Linked DNA regions of Homo sapiens: all the other regions are linked to region 2. The links are contacts of gene promoters, found by promoter capture Hi-C in blood cells and fetal thymus (Javierre and others, 2016). All regions are on one chromosome and are shown on one strand. The core of a region is centred on a gene start or on the middle of the fragment in contact, and the rest is flanking DNA. Distances in the headings are between cores, read along the strand shown.

Evidence for each region. The method cuts DNA at HindIII sites, captures the fragments that hold promoters and counts their contacts. A CHiCAGO score of 5 or more calls a contact.
Region 1: a contact is called between a fragment that was not itself captured here and the fragment with the promoter of FGGY in region 2, in 6 of 17 cell types (M2 macrophages, M1 macrophages, M0 macrophages and 3 more). The highest score is 20.2, in M2 macrophages.
Region 3: a contact is called between a fragment that was not itself captured here and the fragment with the promoter of FGGY in region 2, in 16 of 17 cell types (M2 macrophages, M0 macrophages, total B cells and 13 more). The highest score is 20.9, in M2 macrophages.
Region 4: a fragment that was not itself captured here is called in contact with the fragment with the promoter of FGGY in region 2 in 5 of 17 cell types (M2 macrophages, M1 macrophages, M0 macrophages and 2 more); the score reaches 18.1 in M2 macrophages.
Region 5: a fragment that was not itself captured here is called in contact with the fragment with the promoter of FGGY in region 2 in 17 of 17 cell types (M2 macrophages, M0 macrophages, M1 macrophages and 14 more); the score reaches 83.1 in M2 macrophages.
Region 6: a fragment that was not itself captured here is called in contact with the fragment with the promoter of FGGY in region 2 in 10 of 17 cell types (M0 macrophages, M2 macrophages, naive CD8 T cells and 7 more); the score reaches 17.7 in M0 macrophages.
Region 7: a fragment that was not itself captured here is called in contact with the fragment with the promoter of FGGY in region 2 in 13 of 17 cell types (M2 macrophages, M0 macrophages, M1 macrophages and 10 more); the score reaches 32.5 in M2 macrophages.

The regions. Positions count from the first base shown.
Region 1 is chr1:59,719,737-59,723,041 of GRCh38, reverse strand. The region is part of intron 14 of FGGY (FGGY carbohydrate kinase domain containing); the gene reads right to left. Among named protein-coding and RNA genes, the nearest start is that of MIR4711, 12 kb to the left of the region's middle. The HindIII fragment of the contact is 1,096 bases long and covers 963-2,058 here.
Region 2 is chr1:59,295,497-59,298,406 of GRCh38, reverse strand. It overlaps FGGY (FGGY carbohydrate kinase domain containing), which reads right to left and starts at 1,313. Exons shown (of 16, transcript NM_018291.5): 1 at 1,257-1,313. It overlaps FGGY-DT (FGGY divergent transcript), which reads left to right and starts at 1,857. Exons shown (of 2, transcript XR_001738089.2): 1 at 1,857-2,038; 2 at 2,643-2,910. RefSeq lists silencers at 1,272-1,361, 1,372-1,911. The HindIII fragment of the contact is 6,368 bases long and covers 1-2,910 here.
Region 3 is chr1:58,830,712-58,833,893 of GRCh38, reverse strand. The region is part of intron 1 of JUN-DT (JUN divergent transcript); the gene reads right to left. Among named protein-coding and RNA genes, the nearest start is that of JUN-DT, 47 kb to the right of the region's middle. The HindIII fragment of the contact is 8,972 bases long and covers 1-3,182 here.
Region 4 is chr1:59,737,642-59,740,617 of GRCh38, reverse strand. The region is part of intron 14 of FGGY (FGGY carbohydrate kinase domain containing); the gene reads right to left. Among named protein-coding and RNA genes, the nearest start is that of MIR4711, 5.8 kb to the right of the region's middle. The HindIII fragment of the contact is 1,337 bases long and covers 846-2,182 here.
Region 5 is chr1:59,698,068-59,701,212 of GRCh38, reverse strand. All of the region lies in intron 14 of FGGY (FGGY carbohydrate kinase domain containing), which reads right to left. Among named protein-coding and RNA genes, the nearest start is that of MIR4711, 34 kb to the left of the region's middle. The HindIII fragment of the contact is 937 bases long and covers 1,179-2,115 here.
Region 6 is chr1:58,850,979-58,853,914 of GRCh38, reverse strand. The region is part of intron 1 of JUN-DT (JUN divergent transcript); the gene reads right to left. LOC107984961 (a long non-coding RNA gene) reads left to right here. Exons shown (of 2, transcript XR_001738081.2): 2 at 2,513-2,936. Among named protein-coding and RNA genes, the nearest start is that of LINC02777, 52 kb to the left of the region's middle. The HindIII fragment of the contact is 4,275 bases long and covers 1-2,936 here.
Region 7 is chr1:59,675,880-59,678,994 of GRCh38, reverse strand. The region is part of intron 14 of FGGY (FGGY carbohydrate kinase domain containing); the gene reads right to left. Among named protein-coding and RNA genes, the nearest start is that of MIR4711, 56 kb to the left of the region's middle. The HindIII fragment of the contact is 2,487 bases long and covers 279-2,765 here.

The sequences.
Region 1 (3,305 bases), core at 261-2,760, 420 kb before region 2:
GTGGATCACGAGGTCAGGAGATTGAGACCATCCTGGCTAACATGGTGAAACCCCGTCTCTACTAAAAATACAAAAAAATTAGCCGGGCATGGTGGCGGGTGCCTGTAGTCCCAGCTACTCGGGAGGCTGAGGCAGGAGAATGGCATGAACCTGGGAGGTGGAGCTTGCAGTGAGCCAAGATCGTGCCACTGCACTCTAGCCTGGGTGAGAGCAAGACTCCGTCACACAGACAAAACAAAACAAAACAAAAAAAAGAATCAGACTCTTTGGAGAAATGGCTGATTCCAGAACTGGAGCAGGAAATATGCACAATTAGCCTAAAGTGCCTTGTAGTGCCAGAAAGTAAGAATATAATAATTTTTTAAAACCTCACAAGACACACAATTACGGGATTATGTCAAAGGGTCATAGGAGCCAACTGAGGAGTTGCCAATGGCTACAACTGGAACAACTGAGTAACAAAACAAAGTAGTACTGGATTATAACCAAAAATATAAATATGTATGAGTTATCAGATGAATGAGTGAATAAATAAATGAGAAGAGACAAATCTCCCAAACAGCATAATTCCAAATTTATGTAGATATTCCTCCCACGAGGAGGTAGATCGTAACTTACTTCTCACTCACTCCTTAAGTTTGAGATGTGTTTAGTGACTTCTTTCCAAAGAGTACAGTGTAAAAAGGAAGGAGAAAGAGTAATTTTATAGTGGAGAAGCCTGACAAACACTACCTTAGGTGACCAAGGCCAACATCAATAGCGATAAGTTACACTGATAGTAAGTATCCTTGATATGATATGATGAGAATGGTACTTTGTCAGTCTTCTGTTTTCTCCCAAAAGACCAAAACTCCAATCATGAAAAAAAAAAAAATTAGACAAATCTCAACTGAAGGACATACTACAAAGTATCTGACCAGTACTCCTCAAAAATGTCAAGGTCATCAAAAGCCAGAAAAGCTTAAGGAGACATGATGACTAAATGTAACGTGGTGTCCTGGAAGGGATGCTAGAATAGAAAAGGGATGTTAGGTAAAATCTAAGGAAATCTGCATAAAATATGTGCTTTAATTAACAAAGGTCTCGCTTTGCTTCTATTACTGTGCTCACAAAACAAGTAAACACTATTGGATATTGCTGTCCTCAGGGAATCTGCAGAAGTCTGTGAATGTTGATACAAGTTGGTTAATCTTGGGCCCAGCTAATGCTAACTTGTTCAGTTACCTGTCAGGTGTCTTTCACTCTGTTTAAAAATACATTGCATTCCAAACTGGTGAACAAATAAAATAAAATAATAATAATGTATCAATACTGGTTCATTAATTGTAACGAACGCACCATACTAATGTAAGATGTTAATAATAAAGGTAACTAAGTATGTGGTTTAGAAAAACTCTCTGTATCTGCTGGGTGTGGTGGCTTATGCCTGTAATCCCAGCACTTTGGGAAGCCAAGGCAGGTGGATCACTTGAGGTCAGGAGTTCGAGACCAGCCTGACCAACATGGTGAAACCCTGTCTCTACGAAAAATACAAAATTAGCCGGGTGTGGTGGTGCACGCCTGTACTCCCAGTTGCTTGGGAGGCGGAGGCAGGAGAATTGCTTGAACCTAGGAGGTGGAGGCTGCAGTGAGCCAAGACTGTGCCACTGCAATCCAGCCTAGGCAACAGAGCAAGACTCCGTCTCAAAAAAAAAAAAAAAAAAACAAAGGAAAGAAAAGAAAAACTCTCTGTATCATCTTCACAATTTTTCTGTAAATATAAAACTCTTCTAAAAATAAAGTTTATTAAAATAAAATATATGGTCATGTTTATCAAAATAACACATAAGTTCATGCACATATATCACACAGATGGTGGTAAGTACTAGGGAGAAAAAAACATCAAGTAGGGCAAGGGGGACAGAGAATGGTAGGCGTGGAGCAGGCAGTTTGTATAGGGTGACTAGGAATGGCATCTCTCTGATAAAATGACATTTGAGCAGAGATCCAAGGGAATGAGGGAGTGAACAATGAAAAAATCAACGGAAAGATGATTCCACACGGAGGGAACTGTAAGCTTGAAAGCCCTGAGTTGGAAGTGTGCTCAGTGAATGGAAAGAGAGCAACGAAGCCAGACCTGCTGGGGCAGTTTGGGCAAGTGGCAGAAGGAGATGAAATTAGAAAGGGAGTGAGCACCAGGCCAGGAGGGCTTTGCAGGTCCTGAAAAGAACTAAATAAATGAATGAATAAATAATATGAGTGGAAACTTCCTCCTAAAGTTTATTCTAGGTATTCCAGCCTTTTTTTAAAAGTCATCCTTCATAATATACCTCCCTCCCCCAGGCAGGCACAAGTATTCATCATAACAATAAGAAAATCAATCTTAGCTGCAATTGTTACAACAAGACCCTCTAGTCTCCTGGAAGATGCCTAAGGCATGTCATCTCCTTTCCGAAACAAAATTTGAGTCTGTTTCTAGACAGGCAAAGTGAAATGAAGGCTTGAGGCCAATTTTTCACATAATTTAATATATACATATATAAAACTCACATATGCCTGAAATCTTTAGATAATGGAAAGAAAAGTGGATTTTCCTCTCTTCATTATTAAAGTAATTGGCTCAACCTCTCATTTCATTTTGCACATGTAGGCACAACCGAGTCTGTAATTAGTTTCAAACCACCAAAGTAGAAACAGAATAAAACCTCAGCTAACTGAAGGACCTTTTTTTCCCCCTGACATACTTGGCTTTCAATGGCTACAGGCATAAGGCATGAATCCGAAAGCAAGATCATGACTGGGACTTGCTTAAAAAACAAAATAACTTGCAAAGCATGCATTGGGTGAGTTCACTATGAGCCCCTTACCTGTTGCCTTTTCTATCTCTATTTTCAGTCCCACATAATGAGAGAAGGTATCCTGAATGATGATGAAATCCCCAGTAATCAGAGGAGAGACCCCAGGCTCATTGCTGGCATGCTAACAAAGGCACGAGAACACTCACCTCTTACAGAGATTTTTACCAATGAGGAGGAAATCACACCACTTTGCTCTGACCTTGACTTTAACAAGAAAGTTATATAAAGGCATTCTACTACATGGGAGTAAATTGTCGATCTCTCAATAGTGGGGACTTGAACTTAAAATATTTTGGTTTATTTAAGGGTGATGCATGCCACACTCAATCACAGGTCATGTCTTTTTGGGGATAACCTCTCTGAACCTCAGTTTTTTCATCTCTAAAATGACAATTATAATTTCTGCCAACTTGCAAGGCCCTTATCAATATTAAATGAAAGAATGTTCCTAAAATGCCTAGAACAGTG
Region 2 (2,910 bases), core at 64-2,563:
GCCAGGCAGGCTCCCAACCTCCCTCCCCCTCAAAATTGATCTCCAGGCCCAGCTGACCCCCTCTGATCTGTTCCCCCAATCATCCTTAATAACAGTGCTCTGGGCCTCCCACTAGGAGGTCCTCCAAGAGCCAGGCCAGTGGCCATCAGGTCAAGAGCCAAGCATGAGGGCCCCATTAACAGGAGACTCCCAGAAGACCAAGCGGCAGTCATCTGGCTGGAAAATCCAGCAAGCAAGTTAAAAAGGAAAAAAATCAGGACATACACGTGGTGGATCATAGAAAAAAAAGAGGAAAAGCAAGCAAAAACTATACAAAGCAAAACTCTACCATTTAAATAACAGCCACAAAATAAAAGACTTTCCCTTCTTTCATTCTGATTTACAAGTCAAAAGAATAAGCACCTCACCCCTCCTGGTCTCATACTTTAAAATTTAACCTAAGGATTAACTGCTTTTCAGACTTTGGTCATGTCATGACTGACTCTTCGGGGAAGAAATTTGTGTTAAGACACAGAAGTGCTTTAGTGGAAAACAGCCCATGATGAGGGAAATTCACCATTTTGCACCTTGTCAATTTTTTTTTTTTTTTTCTGAGACGCTCTGTCCCCCAGGCTGGAGTGCAGTGGCACGATCTCAGCTCACTGCAAGCTCCGCCTCCTGGGTTCACGCTATTCTCCTGCCTCAGCCTCCCGAGAAGCTGGGACTGCAGGCGCCCGCCACCACGCCCGGCTAATTTTTTGTATTTTTAGTAGAGACGGGGGTTTCACCGTGTTAGCCTGGATGGTCTCGATCTCCTGACCTCGTGATCCACCCGCCTTGGCCTCCCAAAGTGCTGGGATTACAGGCGTGAGCCACCGCGCCCGGCCCCTTGTCAATCTTTAAATAAAAAGGAAACGGCTAAAAATGAAAAGATATCCCTAGGCCTTTCTACTCAGGATAACTGTAACCAAACAGCATTATCTCATCTAAACTCAGCTGTGCCTCAAACATTATCACAAGTGCTGGAAGCGTTTAAATCTACAAGCAACACTAGCCTAAAAATGCCTTCGGTAGCCAGACGTGAATTAAAGGCTCCTCAAATGCCAGGAAAATGTCCTACAAGGGTAAGGGGAGGAGAGAAAGAGTACTGAATACAGATAAGTGGGCACTGATCGGAGAGGAAGCAGCACGGGTTCCAGACACCTAATAGGCAGCCTTGGGGATGCAGTCAAGGCCGACCCTTCCCTTCCCTTCCCTTAAGTGGCCGGACGCCTCACCCAGAAGAGGACACAGGGGACTCAACAACGTCTCGGGAACAACGGCCCGGCGGGTGTGAGACTAAGCGGCCAGGAGGAGGAAGGGGAGGAGGAGGCAGGGGAGGAGGAGGCAACGACTGCGGGAAAGGGGAAGGAAGGGCCGGGCCGGGTTGGAGAAGCCTCTTTCTGGGCGTGCGCGCTAAGAGCCTGCGCACCAGCAAAAGCCCCCAGCGCCCACGTGGGACTGAGAGGAGGGTCACTTACAGTACTTGTCCAATCTGAAATTACATTTTAGCTAGACGGATTCTGCACGTAGCCGCGCCGAACCCCACGGCGCCTGAGCAGGGCGGTCCCGGGGCGGCTACAGCCCCGCCTTGCGCGCGATCCCGCCCCCGCCGGCGCGGCCCCTGTAAAGCGCGGCCCCTGTAAAGCGCGGCCCCTGTAAAGCGCGGCCCCTGTAAAGCGCGGCCCCTGTAAAGCGCGGCCCCTGTAAAGCGCGGCCCCTGTAAAGCGCGGCCCCTGTAAAGCGCGGCCTGATTGGCCCTTTGAACCGGGCGTGGGATTGGCCGTCGCCTGCCCACCCCGCGGCTGCAGCGTTCCCTGGGGCCTAGCCAACCGCGGGCAGGGCTGGGCAAGGCGGGAGGAGCGCGGACCCAAGATCGGCTACGCTGCGTCTGCTCAGGCTGCGAGTTCCCGGCTCTGGGGACTCACCTTGCGGAGCTTACCCAGGCGGACTCTCCGCAGCCCCTGATGGGTGTGTGTGTCAGACCGTTTACTAAACACCAGGACTGTTGTAGGCGACTGTAAGAAATAAGAATATTGCATGGTTACAATTCTTGAATGCTTACCTTGTGTCTTGTTCCTTACTCTACAGAAATTTTCTAATCCCGTGGCGAACCCCCGTACTTCAACGTATGACATTCTGTAAATCTACAAAACAGATGGGTCCCTGCCTTTGAGAAGTTTTTACAATTTAGTGGGTACTGGACACGGACCTAATTTAATTCTCACATGCCTTCCCTTTCTAATAAGCTGCATGTTATGTATCCCTATTCTACAGATGTGGGGAATCCGAAATTTTTAGCTTTTACTGGGACACACAGCTAGCAAGCAACTAAAGCGAGAATTCCAACCTGAGCTCCAATCCGAACTATTTTCATAAAAGGCAGGATCCCAGGCTGAGGGAGTTCGAGGTTTGGGAGACAGTTTAGCAGTCGCTGAGTCCAAACATGTTGTTTTCCTAGAAAAGAAAACTGAGATCCAGGAAAGGGAAGTGATTTTCCAAAGACACACCTGTGAAAGGTAATAATTTCACTGAACGGATCTTAAGTGGCAGGTGCACTAAGATTGTCTGCTATCTTCACAACAACCCCGAAGTAAATAAGTGCTCTTATCTTGGTCTTACAGGTGAGGAGAACAGCCCAGTGAGGCTGAGGCCACACAATTAACCCCAGTCTTTGCACTACAACTCTACCAGGGATCCTGGTTTGGCTCATTTTCTTTCTTCTGCACCATGATTGTTCACCTTTTCATTACCAGCAACATACCCAAAGACCTAGCTATAGACTCGTTGGAATCTGTTACTTAGCAGCTGTGTGAATCAAGTGTTCAATAGGAATAATAAGATGTATTCATCTTACCTTTTCAGAACATTATGAAGAACAAATGTGGTAAG
Region 3 (3,182 bases), core at 351-2,850, 460 kb after region 2:
TTGCCCCTGATGCTGTCTGCCAAAAGGGGCATTTGAAGTCTGGAGAATAGGCACTCAGCAGCCCTTTTCCTCATGAAAGTGCACGTTGAACCTTCTAATTAGGCTTCTCAACACACCTGTGAAGCCACAATTCCCTCCCTACCCTTCCTGCCTCCACTTTTACAGTCAGGAGCTGGGGGTGGGGGGTGCTTTGTAGTGTACCTTTCTTTTTCTGCTCCACAAAGAGAAAAAGTCTAATTTTGAAGACTTTGTGGCTCCTTATCCCGTACTCAGACCCCTACTTACCTGTTTCATAGGGGATCAGGGAGGGGTAATTATTGCTCCTGGGAGCTTTGAAGGTTTGACGTGCTCTGTGGCAAGAGAGGTATCTAATGTGATGATTAGCATTAATAATAATTATTATTAGCAGCAGGACTTAGCTCTTTTGAAAGGGGGAAATATCCTTGCAACTGTTTCCCAACTGCTGAAGCTCCTTCCATTGCTAAATTTTGCTATTAAAGAGGATGACAACATCATGACAGGATATGGTGGGGTCAGGAGCTGGGCCACAGAACTCCTGTAATGGTCACAGGCCCATTCTGGCCAAAGATGGAGAGAGGGCACTGGTAAGCATACATTGTGGGCCTGGCATTTGAATATTCCTTGAGATGCCTAATCTGGACCCTGCCTCCCTTCTACCCCTAGTTCTCTATATGAGGACACACTGGCCCTCTTTTACTTCCCCCAGCATGCTCTTTCCAACCCCAGACTGTTGCGCATGCTAATCCCTCTACCTAAAAGGCCTTCCCCCAACCATAACACTTCACTGAGATGATATCAGTGCATTCTTGGGCCTCTGTTATGTGCTGCTGGATGCTCATACTTCTCTTTTGTAGCACAGATGCTTACTCAGTTTCTGCCTCCCCTGCTGCAGTAAGAAGTATCGGGTCTGGATCAGAGATCACCCATGAGCCAATTCATTTTACTGCATTCTCTGTACTAAGTCTGACAATGTAAGTAGGTGCTTATTCTAGATATTATGCCTAGCCAAACTTCAACTGAGCAAAACCTGGCAAGATTTCCCAAGTGTAAGCAGTGCAAGGTCCCCCATTACACACCCAGGCAGGCCTGCATCTCCAGAGCTGGAGCATCCTGGAAGAAACAGAAGCCTACAGAAGCATCCCCATCACATATATTTTATTGTTTAAATTCCATTGTTGGCTATGAATACAAATGGGCCTGGCCTTGTCTGTCCTTTCTCCACCCCTTGGCCACAGTAGGTGGACCTGAGACCCAAGGTGGGTCAATGGTAATACCCACTCTTAGCCAGGGAGATCTATTTAAGGCATGCACATGTCCCAAGCCAGGCCAATCAAAGGATTTCCATGGGACTTTTCTACCCCGAGCTGTAGGAAGAAAATTTCTTCTCTCTCTGATCGCAAGCTGTAAAAATGGAAGCCTAAACTTTACATATATTATTATACACTATTCTATGTATTCCATACATAAGTTATATTTTACAAATTAAAAAAGACACTACAAAAGCTGGAAGGCAAGCCTGGAGCTTTGGCAATCACATGCTCATCCCATGTAAGGAACTCATGAAGAGAAGAGAACAATTCCAATATGCAGGAAGGCAGAGGTAACAGGCAGGGATGGTGCCCCGTAAGTGCTGGAGACTCGGATCTGGCCAATTCCGATCCACCCCTACCCTTCTCACAATTTATCTGAGCAAATAATGTCTCCTTTTTGGCTTAAGCTAGGTTGACTTTATGTTTATACTTGAACTTACTACCAAGAAATAAAAATAATATCTCATATTTTATTTATGCCCTTTTTTCCACAAAGGATTGATTTAAAGTTAACATCCTTCATTTGTCTTATAATTTCTGATTTATGGTTTATTACTTCACTCAAGGTGATCACTCAATATAGTTTTCTGAGGTGAGCAAAGAAAGTGTAATTCGTTCATTTTACAGATAATCTAACTGAGGTTCAAAGAAGTAAAGGGACTTAGGTCACACAGCTAGCAAATGGAAGAGCCTGGACTAGAATCTAGGTTTTCCTATTTTTCTCTCTATAATGAGAACCTAGAATTTAGGTTCTCTTATTTTTCTGCTAATAGATCATGGCTATAAGCACTAAGAGAGAGGCTGTTGGGCTACTTGGGCTCATAAGATTCTCATACCTTTCTACTGTAGGTAACTATGCCCTTTTAAGAAGCACATCTTCATAGTACAGTAACACTTGCTATAAATATTCCTGAGAAGTAATAAAAAATAGAGGCTATCACAAAGTTTGGGCTTTGTTCAGGTCAAAATAATATGTATATTTAATGTAAAAGAGATGCTAAAATCTTGACTTGTTGTAGCAAGGAGAGGGTGTTCTGGAAGGAAATGTTGGGTGCATTTGGTGCAGAAAACTCCAATGGTGTTGAGAAGAGGTAGGAAGTGAGAAGGAGGGAGCTAGGAAAGTTTTGTCTTTCATCAGCAGAGCTGTAAAAAAAAAGATGGAAAGTTGGAAACCACCGTTATAATGCGAGACAGACCTGAATTCAAATCTAACTTTGACCAGCCACTAGTTAACATCTTGGGCAATCACTGCATCTCTTTATTTCTCTGCCTCTTCATTTGTATAATGAGGATAATAATATCTTCTTTCAAATTTGTGTATGTGATTGCGCATATAATAAAGATGCCCAACAGTACCTGGGACATACTAGTTGGTAGATAAAGTCTTCTTCCCCTTTGTTTCTCTTTCACTTATAGGAGCAATGCTCACATTTTGTCCCCTATAAAGAGAATCAGCAAGAAACACCCATGTGCCCCAGGGGAGGTTAGTACACAGTGCATTGGGATTTGGCAACTGGGCCCTTCACCATGAAGGCCCAAGAGCCTTCCCCGGCCTTAACACCCTTTCTCTTATTCCTTCTCTCATGCTGTTTTACACATTCCAGACTACTTGCCCTTCTTTGGCCAAATCTTTCTCTCCCAACTCCCGTCTCCTATTTCAAAGCACATTGTTTTCCTGGACAGTTTATTTGCTACTTCGGCTTGTCCTGAAAGAGATTCTACTGGCATCCTTTCTACAAAAAGTAAAATCTCTTCCAACAGATAAAAGGGAGGGAAGCAAAAAGTGGGGTGGATGAAGTTTTTCAGGATAGAAAGAAGAGTGGGGAAAATAGAATAGACTTACTGTTTCAA
Region 4 (2,976 bases), core at 265-2,764, 440 kb before region 2:
TTGATAAATAATACTGATAAATAATCAATAGAAAGCCCTAATTTTATCAATTGCCAATTTCTGTGTTGTAAATACTTCCATCTTGGCCAGTTTCAAGCTCTGAATGTGATGGAATGGATGTGAAGCTGGGAAGAGATGTGCACAATATGCTCTTGCGAGCAGGGCTGAGCTAGCCCCAGCTCACTACCGGATCTAAGAAAGCTGGGAGATTTAATGGCAGTTGTCTTTCTAATGGCTTTTCTCTTAGAGGTAGTTGGTGGCTAAGAATAAACAGGAGGTCATCTCTCTGAACATGAGAGGAAAGACAGGGATGGAAATTGGCAAAGTTTGATAATAGTCATTGTAGAAAATGGGAAATTGAGCTGAAGTGATATATTTATTCAGGTTCCTATTAGGAAAGAGATTGACACTCACATTGGGTAACTGAAGTAAGCTTCAAGAAGAGTTGTTTAAAAAGGTTTAGGTAAAGAAACAAGTACCTAATGATTACCAACAGTAAGGAGCCATTACAACCTCTTAGCCTGAAGGAGGACAGGGAGGGAGGAGAGGTTCCCATCATGCACAAAATTGTAGGGAAAGGGCCACACACAGGAACTGTGGTCCATTGTAGAAGGATGGTAGATGGATGTAGCTAACCTGCGTCAACCCAGCAAGGAGAGCGCTGGGGGAATAAACAACTTCATTATTCTCCAGGTTCCTGCTGGGGCTGCCCATTGGCCAAACCCAACCAGAAACCAGGGCTAAGAGACTGGTAACAATTAGTATAGAGTGGTAGAAGCCTGCCTTATGGTTGTATGGCTTTGATTTATAGTGTCCACAAAGCTGAATTCATCCTGGATTAAGCTTTGCTAAAGAACAATGGGGAAAAAATAAAACAGCCACGTGGAGATTGACCATGTAGAAAAAGAGAAGATGGGTAAGAGGAAAGTGAAAAAAAAATTCTGAAAACAGCCCTTCCACGTACATTTTAGAGAGAAAGAAACTAAAACTCAAAGCATAATGTGGCCTGCCCAAGAGAGCAAGTTTAGTTAGTGGTAGGGTTATCAGACAGGTCTGTTTAGCTGGAAAGCATTTTCCACCTTACCTTCCCACCTGCAAGCAATGAATGGTTTGGTTGAAACCATTCTCCCCATACCCCTGCACCCCTCACTACCCAGTTTCTGCGCTTGGGAGAGTAAAACTCAAAAGAACAAAACTTATTTGAATGAACGTTTTTACATATGGCCAGATAGGTGAGGTGAGGCTGTGTTTGGTAGCCTGGGCAGGAAATGTTTGCTAGTTTATTTGCAGAAGCCAAACTTATCTCTACCAAGCAATTAAAAAATAATCTGTCAGGTTAGAGGCAAGGACAGAACAAGATACAGCTTTTAGTTGAAGCTGAAACATTATTGGAATTTTCTACCCCCAATATATAAACTCATGCATACTGAAAAGCAAATATTCACAAGGACTGCCTTCATTACTGGTGCTCATGGCAAATGTACAAGCTAAGAGGTGGATGAGGCATGTGCAAGGGTGTCTTTTGTGAAATAAAGGTGAAGTTAAGTTTTCAGGAATGCTCTGTTCCCCACTCCATGTCTGTTCTGGTCTCCCTTCAAGGCAGTACCTGACCAGGTGACCTTCTTACTTAGGTCCAGTGGTTTGGGCAGGAAAGGCAGAGAGAATGTGCCTGGATTCCCCTGTATCTGGTACTGAAATCAGAGCTACGAAGCTGGGAATGGACAAAGAAGCACTGGCCACAGCTAGGATGGCATTCCTGTGGTGTGACCTTGGGGCCTAATCTCTCTCAACCCATTTATGGAATTTCCTCATTTATAAAATTTGGCCAATACCTAATGGGTAATTGTGAGGATTATATAAGGCCAAGAATACAAAGCTCTGGACAGATGTGAGTGCCCAGCAAAAGTGGATTCTTGCCACATTCCTGTTGCTCTCTGGTCCTAGTACTTTGATTTAACCATTTATTTCATTTCCCAGAATAACCAGTTTCTTCTGACATGGGATTCCATTCACAGAAGATAGCAGCGGTTTTCCTACAACTTCCCAATCATGATTATTCTAGTTTTGTTTTGTTTTATTTGGTCACTTTTGGGCCCTGGTGACTCCAGGTGGCCATTCTGGGGAAACCACAGCATTTTGGATCATGGTTTTTTTCCCCATCTTTGAGTAAACACCAAAAGCTTTCTTTACCTTTTATTCCAATTCTTGTTTGCCATCTGGTGCCTGGTTTGGCTGCATCTGTGTTTACTTAATGACTTTAGGCAAAGGCCGAGTTTACATACGGGAAGAATGAGAGGGCTTTGCTGATTCCTTCCATATGTTCATTTATTCATATATTATGATTTTTGTAATCTCACCAGCATAGATCTCTTCAGACAATCCTTACCCTGTTCCCTGGAGAGCTGCTTCTTTGTGTTTGCAGCTGGGAGTTTCTGTGAGAACGTTTTCTTCAATGCCTATTACCTTTAGCACAGCTCAGTGAGGCTTTTAGATGGGCACAAAATTAATATTCTTGAAGGTTCTTCTTTTTGAATAGGGGAGCTTATTTGACTTGGTTGATTCTGAGGACTCAGGAGACCTGGGCTCTAGACTCTTCTTTTACTTTGTAAATGGTATGAATTCAGACAAGTTTTATAACCACTCTGGTCCTCAGTTTGCTCTCGCCCCCATGATTCAATTACTTCCCACTGGGTCCCTCCCACGACATGGAGGAATTCAAGGTGAGATGTGGGTGGGAACACAGTCAAACCATATCATTCTGCCCCTGGCCCCTCCCAAATCACATGTCCTCACATTTCAAAACTAATCATGCCTTCCCAAAAGTCCCTCAAAGTCTTAACTCGTTTTGGCATTAACTCAAAAGTCCACAGTCCAGCGTCACCTCTGAGACAAAGGTAAGTCCCTTCTGCCTATGAGCCTGCAAAATCGAAAGCAAGTTAGTTACTTCCCAGATACAATGGGGGTACAGGCATTGGG
Region 5 (3,145 bases), core at 398-2,897, 400 kb before region 2:
AAAAATGTGTGGGGCTATGGGTATATATGGAAGATACTCAGGGTATAACCTTTCTTAGGCCAATTCTCTTGCACGTGTCCCCCTATCCCCAGCACTCCCAGTGGATGACATCTCAGGATTTTGCAATTCCAAACCATTTCTTTGAATTCAGTGAAACTAGAGTCTGAGACAGAAAACACAAGTGTTGGCAGCAGAGAAAGGAAAGAGAGAGGAGCCCCACAGTATTCTCCTTACTCAACACATTCCAGCCTCCCTGCTTTTTTTGCTTTCCTTCACACATGTTCAATTCATTCCCACTCCAGGGCCTTTGCACTTGCTGTCCTTTCTGTCATTTGGGACTCACCACGAACATCCCTTCCTCAGGAGGGCCTCTCTCCTGCTCACAAAGCCAGCCCTTCACACCCAGTCTGTCATTCCATTTTTGCTCCCTGATATCACTTTGCTTTCTTTTGTAACATTTCTTGTTACCTGAAATCAATATTACTTGTTGTGATTGCTGTTTCTTAGGATCTTCCCAACTGAATGTAAGTTCTATGAGGGCAGGTGTTGCTAGACAAAGCTAGAGGCACTCAGTGAGGAAAGCAGACAGGTATCAGACAGTAAAGGAGACGTGCACACTCCAAAGGGAGGGCAGGCTAATGGGGCTAAGAAAAGTGACACTGACTCCCAAGCAGTTCAAGGAAAAACTAATAACATAAACTCTTATTGCACACGACCTGTGATAAGCTCATGCACTACTTTGTTGAAGTTTCCTTGTTGGAACACAGAAGCATTCTGTGAATGTGGGTAAAAATTGGGATAATAACAGTTCCTGTCCCATGGTGACTGAGTTAATTCATGCAAAGTGGTTAGAACAGTGCTTGGCATATAAAAAACATCAATAAACTTTGCCTATCATCATTGTCACCATCATTATTTACAGAGAGATATGACAGATAGATAATACTCATCTATAAGAATTATATGCATTGCTGTGCACTGTATTTGCTTTTTCTTTTTGAAATGATTCTTAGAATTCCTACAGTGTACAAAGTTAAACATGTGCCACCTATTTTGAACTTAATGTAGTACAAAAACAGTTTTATAAGACTTGTTTGTCAGTTTTTATATAATCGAAGAATTTTAATGTGTTTGTAACAGACACATTTATGATTGCTTTGATCAAGAATTTAAAAGCTTCAAGCCATATAAACATGGAGAAAATGTAAGGGCTCTGAGAAGCTAGAAGAAATAATGATATCAGTGGAGAGAACAAATAGGCTAAAAGTCTCAATGACAACTTTATAAGGGTGAATATGGATATAGAATATTGAACAAGGCAAATAGAAGAATTAGAGATGTGAGAAGCGAGACATTCGCACAGAACAAGTCAAAGCACCACATACAGTCATCACTTCTCTGCAATCAACGCGGGACATGCCTGTTACAAAGGCAAGAACAGCAGGCAAACTGTTGCAAATAAGAACGAGAATTAAACATGTTAATAAATATGATGTTGTTTTATCAATAACTTTAAAAATCTGCTAGAATACTGTATGTTACTCCAAGTTCAGCTAGTTCTTTATTTTTATAAAAACCTCTTTTTATTTACCTCCTTTTTTTGTTTGCATATTGGAAGCCTGGTAAATAGAACTGGAAACCTACCTCGCCCAGGGTACCATTTGCCTTCTTTCTCCATCAGCCCCAATGACCCACAAATACTTTTTCTATCCATGGCAAAAGAGCAGAGGGGTTGTTTTTGAGATTTTAGCAGCCCATGCAATGTTCTCTACAGCCCCTAGGTGTCACTATTGCAAAACTAACAGAAGCCTGAACCGTCAAAAAGAAAAAGTACATTTAATATGAAACACTTTCAATAACTATGCAAAAGGCAGACATCATTTAATACAGAAGCTACAAACAATTTAGTATCTCTAATTGAATTTTTAATTTCCTTTTAAACTCAAAGGCTCACCCCAAGAAGAAGAAAAATATCATTTTTTAGCCAGAAAAAAAATCTCAGAACTGTTCTTTCTCCTAACATTTACACTGAGGGACTCAGCTGAAGCTCACGATACTAAAAGTTTGTGGTATAATTTGTTTTATAATCAAGATTGGTTTGATAGTACAAAAGCTTTCAGAGTAAAAATGTAAGACAGTAAATGAGAGCTGGCTGGAAGGAAAAATGTAGCTATGTTAGTTTGATATTCAACCAAAAGCTATAATCTTATTAAACATATTTAAACATGGTTTTCATTTAGATTTGGCAGCTTGATTAATGGGGATGTATTAAATAATACCTGGCTGCTAGGAGCATATTTAGGAATCAGTGCCACATAAAACATACGACATGTACAATTCAGTTTCATTATTATTTAAGGTTCTCTGTTCTCTTGGCTGTGGGCACACACATATTAAAAATTAAGTACACGCACTCAATGTATGCGCTGCGCTTTTAAAGGGCTTTCTCTTTAAGCAGAAAGATGAAATGGAAAACGAACTCAACTCTGGTGAAAGGTAATGGATTCATCCCTTTGGGGACAGCTGTCCTGTTTATCAAAAGAAAGGGGAGAGGTGGGTCAGAAGCAAGAAAAAAAAATTCCCAAGTGGTCAGCAAAGAGAGACGCCCAACTTCAGAGGGGAGCTGAAATCAGTTTCTACACCCAGGCTTCCTTCTTTGTCACAGTTGAGAGGTCGAATGAATGGTATGTTTAACCATGAGGCCATGGGGGAATTGAGATGCTGATTCCCAGAGCATTATAGAAACACTTTGGTAATGGGGGTGTGGGGGTTGGAGGGGAGTGTGAAGAAGCATCTGTAGTTTTTCTGGGCATAATGCTAGGTACTGACCAAGGGGTGGGAACTGCGGGGTGGGCATGGTTCTGACTAGCTGGGAAGATAGAAAAGTATGAAGTAAAGGACCAAGTATCATAATAGAGTTCTACTCAGTGTTTTTGATGAGAAAAAAATGATACATATGACATGCAGAACCTTATCAATAAATTATCTTTCTCCCCTTTCAAATGACATGAGGTTCCCTAATAATCTTTGGGCTGGAACAAGACATCTCAGAGAGGCCAAAATGTCATATATCACATTACATTTCTAAACAACCCAATGGGACAGGGAAAAGTACTATTAATATTTTAACTTTGGAAACTATGTT
Region 6 (2,936 bases), core at 2-2,501, 440 kb after region 2:
CAGTGATACTTAATCCCATTTGAACCCTGGTAGATTGAGTTCCTGTTCAACTGGCCAAACTATACCATAACCCAGCTCGGTTTACTTCCAGGATTTGAAGAGTTAAATGAAAAAGAATATGTAAAGCAGGACCTGGCAGGCAGGACCCACTCAACAGGAGATAGCCCTCATAATCTCCATGACTTTTACCACAAAGCTGTTGGAGAAGTAAATTAGGTGATACAGAGGGAGTGGTATCCAAACAATGCTCTATAGATCCCAGTATCATTATTGTCCATTTTATCAGTGGTAGGAGCAACAGAGGCCCAATCAGCAAACTAGATAGCTAAGGGTCTGAAACCTCAGAACAAACTAAGGAAAGCAGAGTAAGGATGACCAGAAACACCTCATAGTTTGCAACCCCGTGGACAAAGACATGCCTGCTCCTCTGCTCCTGCACAGATTCAAAAGGAAACCCTTTCCCCTCCCCCATTCTCTCCTACCTCCCCAATCCCCATCCCAGCTTCCGCCACCCAGCCTACATTATTTTCTGGGCCCCTTTAATTTGGAGGCTTTTAGGGCCACATCCTGCCATCAATTTGGGGGCTGACTTCAATGAACGTTCTGTGCAGGGCGGGAGAGGGGCAGGATACAGCTTTCTCCTGGCGGGCCCTGATACAATAGGGTTTTCTACTGAGATCAATGGATTAATTGCAAATGCTCCATTTGGGGCCATAAGGAGGTGCATTGTTTTCCCACAGTCGGCTGGCTGTCAGGGCTTAGGCTTGCCAAACTTCATTTTTGAAAAGTCAGGGAAAACAATTTTGTGAAAAAGGGGTAGGGGTGGAGGGGTACAGCACAGTAATTTTGATCATTTCACTAAAGGTCAATAACAATTATAGCGAAAATTCAGAAGGCACATTTGTTCTCTGACTGAGGCCCTGTCTGGAAAATTCCATCCCGAAACAATTTGCTGTCTCTCTTCCAGCCCTCCCCTCCTCTACAAGGCTCTCTCTCCACCAACGCCCCAGCCCACTCCTAACTACCCCATCCTCTGGCTCCTCCCACCACATCAGAAACTCTCTCCCCTGGAAACAGCCTTCTAGGTTGAGAAGGAGAAGCGACCAGGGAATTATCTTCCTTTCCCTCGGGAAGGTGAGATGGGTACAGTGGCATCATTCCTTTCTCCCTGGGGTTGTGGAAGTGTTTACCTGGTGGTGGAAATGGCACGGGCATAGGGGAATTAAAGTCCTACTTCTAATAGTTAATAGCTGATACTTGGGAAAATTCAACTCTCTGAACATCCACAGTGTCATCTGTAAAACGGGAATAGTAATCTGGACCTTGTGGGATTACTGTGCAGATGAAATGAGAAGATTGAGACACCATCCAAACTACAGTAGATGCAGCATAAATGCAGGGCTCAAAACCACCTAAAGCAAGAGGTTCTGATCATGGCATTTCTCTGTGTGGAAACCCCTCATGGCACACTACCTGCACACCATCAAGGCCACATCTGTTGGCCTGACATTCAAAGTCCTCCACTTTCTGCCCTCCTCCTCCCTTTCCAGCCTCATTTCCCACTCCTTCCTCCCTCCCTCCCTTTTCTGTGCATAACCTGTCCTTTCTCTATCCTAGCCACTGTTCTAACTCTGAATTCCGAAATGCACATGTTGATATCCTACCCATCCTAAGACTGTCAACTTCTCCAAAAAGTTAAATTCTTTCAGCTGCGATGAATTATCTCCTCTATACTTAGCACCTTGCTTCTTCCATGCCTTCAAAACTCCATATTCTACTTAGCTATAGTTCTCTCAATCCCTCACTGATTCATCAAACACTTAGAATTGTAATTCAGAGCCCAGCCCTGGGGTCATGAGTGTCTGAATTTGAAACTCAGCTCTACTTCTTGCTTGCTGTAGGATCTTGGCCTTTCTGTACCTCAGTTTCCCCATTTGTAAAATGGGAATAATAACTGTAACTACCTCAGAGGCAGTTAATATGAGAAAATACGTGTAAAATCCTTCAAAGAATGCTTGGTACATGGTAAGTGCTCAGTAAATATTGGATAGTATTATTGTTAAATACCTAGTCTGTTTCAGAGCCTAAGAATACAGTGATGGATAAGACAGGCTTTTCTTCAACAAATATTTCTTAAGTGGCTTCTATATGTCAGGGATTTCTGCTACTTCTAGGGGGAAGAAGAAAGGAGTGGAGATAGATAATAAACAGAAAAAAATAGATAAACGAGAAAAATATCATCTTGTGAAAAGTGCTACATTGCCATTTACAGTAGATTTAAGTGATGGAGCATAGGTGAAGGGCTTTTTTAGGCAGAAGGCTGAGAAAGCCTCCTCGAGGAGGTGGCATTTAAGCTGCATGAACTAACCCTTAGCTCCCACTTCCTGTAAAGGTGAGCAAGAGCTCCTACAAGGGAGTGGCATAGGTGCTGGCTAGGGATGTAGGGGTCGTGATTGAATACAATTAGGTAATGTCTTCACAGGATGGTAAACACCCTTGTATTCTCTTGAAGGAGCTGAAACGTATGAACACCACAGCTTCAGGGCCAGGCAAAGTTGGGTTTGTGTCCCAGCAGTACAACTCTCCAGACTTTGAGCCTCACTCTCCTCTTCTATACAATGGAGCCAATGACACCTCTTTCCTGTGTATTAGAAACACCACCTAAGAAGATGTAGATAAAGTGACTGCAAGGTAAGAATTCCATAAATATTAACTCCCCTCCCCACCATATCAGAGAACCCTAAAGTTGAGAACTGCATTTCTGTACATATCACTATATTAAAAACCTAAAGGGGAAAAAAATGGACTATTCTAGTGACTACTTGTTCATCTCCCACTCAAATGCCAAAAAATGTTTTTTCAAGGGAAACAAAATAGTAGGAAAAGGAAGGATGCTTTAAAAAAAAAAAAAAAAGTCTCTCTTCTCCCTTGCCCTA
Region 7 (3,115 bases), core at 273-2,772, 380 kb before region 2:
GACAGGGAAAGTTGATGGTGAGAGTGCATGGAGTCAGTGGTTTACAGGGGTGGCAACACTCACACAGTGGGAGGAAGGAAGGTCTGTGATTAATTGGCTGATTCCAAGGGCTTATTTTCTTTACACTGGTACTCCCCTTAAAATGACTGCTGAATGCATTTTGATCTCTTGTCACTGTCTCCTTTTACTGATTTTTGCTTCAGATGCTTCCTCCACTCCTTTTTTTCAAGGGTGGGGGGTGGTGGTTCAAGACAAATAGCACTGCTGGAATTAAAGCTTGTTTTGTCTAAATAGACTTGAATAAAAACTGCCCCTGAAGATAAGAAATTACAGAAAGCTAATGACATCTGCAGGGGGCCTGAAGGAAACAGAAAGTGGAGAGCCATTTCATGTTGCTGTCTCTTTGCCATTTGATTGAGTTTTCTCTCACAACGACTTGAAACTGCTTCTTGTTTTATTTATTTGTCCTTGTATTTCTTAGAATCTTTTAACTGTCTGTGCTTAGAAAGTGTAAGCATAGTGATATTTCATAAACTTAGTTTTTTTCCAGTTTATTGATTTTCCAGGACCTGGGAGCCTAGAGAAGTGTTATGGAACACTCTCAGCTTCTAATTATAATTATTTGTTTTCCAAGATATTCAGAATTACAGAGGATCATTTTGTACTCTACTGATGATGGGGGAGGGATCAAGTAGAAAGGTCACAGAGGTCAAGACTGCAGGGATTCCACATTCCTAAGAGTAAAGGGAGGGGAAGTGAACTGCCTTCTTTGTGTCCCCTCCCACTTATTCAATAGCTAAATTTTTACTGTGAGAGCAGCATATCTGTGGCTTGATTCCATATTTTTCATTAAACCGCAGATATAAAGCTGATCATGATTTGCCTTCAAGAATACTTGTCCACAAGGAGACTGTTCTCTTTAGTAAAGACACAGTTTTGAAAACTACTAAAAGGAAAACACCCTTTCTAAAGAGGGGCAACTCTTTAAGATAGTATTAGTCATTGTATTCTTTAGAATGAACGAATGGCTATGTCAGTATCCTTTGTGAGATCCGAATTTGACAAAGAAATAGTAAGAAGACTTTAGATGTCTAAAGGGAGAGAGAGAGCAGGAAAGGACAAGGGAAGAGAGACAGAGACAAACTAAGAGAAGGAGAATCTGAATGGATAAAAGAACAAAAGAAGGAAGCTAGGAATTGTCAGCATGTTTCAAAATTTGCAATATCAATAGATCTTGTTGTTGGCCAATCTTTCATTAAGGGCCCACCAGAATATTCCATCCAGTCTCCCTTCCCCTGATAAAATTCTCCCAGAATTGAGATACACAGAGTCTACAAAAGCTACAAGTAAAATCTACAGCTGTGGATCCATTGGTATCACCCAAGAAAGGTATAGGACTCTACCCCCGGCTGAAAATCATCCATTCAGGGGCCTATGAAAACCCTGTCTCCTCAAGCACATAAAAGTTTTTCCTACCTCTACTGTCTGGGTCCTCTGGATTCTTCCCAGCCTTCCCAGCATCTGAAGGAGGTGACTCTGGTTGAGTCTACCAAAATTGGCCTATCTAGATAAGAAGTGAAATCCTCCATCTAACCACCAGATGTGTGGTCCATGAGAAGATAAAACATCTGACTTGCTGGAATAGTTGAGGTGCTGGCAGGAATTGCTCAACTTTCTTAAGGAGGGGAAGGCAGGTACCCTGCAAACCAAGCCAGGGTCCCTGAAGTTCAAAGAAAAGACTGTGTTGAAGTTCAGGTTGAAAATATGAATCACAGAAAGAAAGCAATTCAATTTTGCCTCACCTTGCCAGAATCTGAAGCTGGTCCTCAGACCTGGGGCACAAAGGTTGGCCCCTCTTCTTTGGAGGGGAGCAAATGACGCCAAGTCTACATGCATTTTCATTTCCAAAGCAGTTCCAAATATTTTATCATTCTAATGATATTGATTACACCTGAGAGGTCACTGGAACTTTCAAAGGCTCTTTATCTCGATAGTCCCATATGGGTGGCAATTCTTATTTAAACATTAAAAAAAATACATAAAACAGACAAATAAAACAAGCACCCAGAGAGAACAAGTGACATCGTCTGAGGACAGTAAAGCAAGCACAGAGCTCCAGACTATGGGGAGTCTGTCAGGTAAGTGATGACAGATAAGACCTCAGGACTCTCTCAGCTGGTGGCTCCCTTTACTAGATTGTGTCTCCTGAAAACGATCAGGACAGGCACACACATCCTTGGGTTGAATAGGAGACATGAGCTTGTCTTTACAATGCTGTGAGCCTTGCAGCTGCTACTCAAGTCATCAGTTCCAAATCTGATCTACTATATCTTAGATTCTGTTACAGAAGACTAACAGCAAATCTCATGTAGTCAAGATGTCAGTGTGGAATTAAGCTCAGTTTCCCATTAGGGGAAGATGTGAGTGGAATTCCTTTGGAGCTGGAGATCCCAGTTTTGAATAAGATATCAATGAAGCCATGAGTCATGGTATGATGTATCTAGTATAGCAGCCTCATCTTGAAAGGCTATTCTCTGTTTGAGCTACAGACTATCTCCTGATTTGTGACCTATGGCATTTCTTTTCAGAAAATACACCACTGAACACTTAAGAAGCCAGAAAATATTTTTAAAGAAAAAACAAATCGAACAAATTAGAAAAAGAATGACAGGATAAGATATAGACCCAGAGAGACCTTCATTTCAATTCTGCTTCTGCCCTTTCTGTGTAGCCTTGGACAAATTACTTAAAACATCTCTGAAGCTTGGCTTCCTATCACAGAAGGATAAAAACACGCATCCTGCAAGCAGGATGACTGTCAAGATTAAATGAGGTGTCTTATCTCAGGCTACTATAACAAAATGCCATAGACTGGGTAAACAACAGAAATCTATGTTCTCACAGTTCTGGAGGCTCAAAGTCTGAGATCAGGGTGCCAGCAATGTCAGGGTCTCGTGGGAGCCCTCTTTTGGCCTATAGAAATGGACTTCTTGCTGTGTCCTCACATGGCAGAGAGAACAAGCCAGCTCTCTGGTGTCTTTGTATAAGGGCCCATCAGACCATCATAACCCATCAGACTAGGCTCCTGCCCTCATGATTTCATCTAACCCTAATT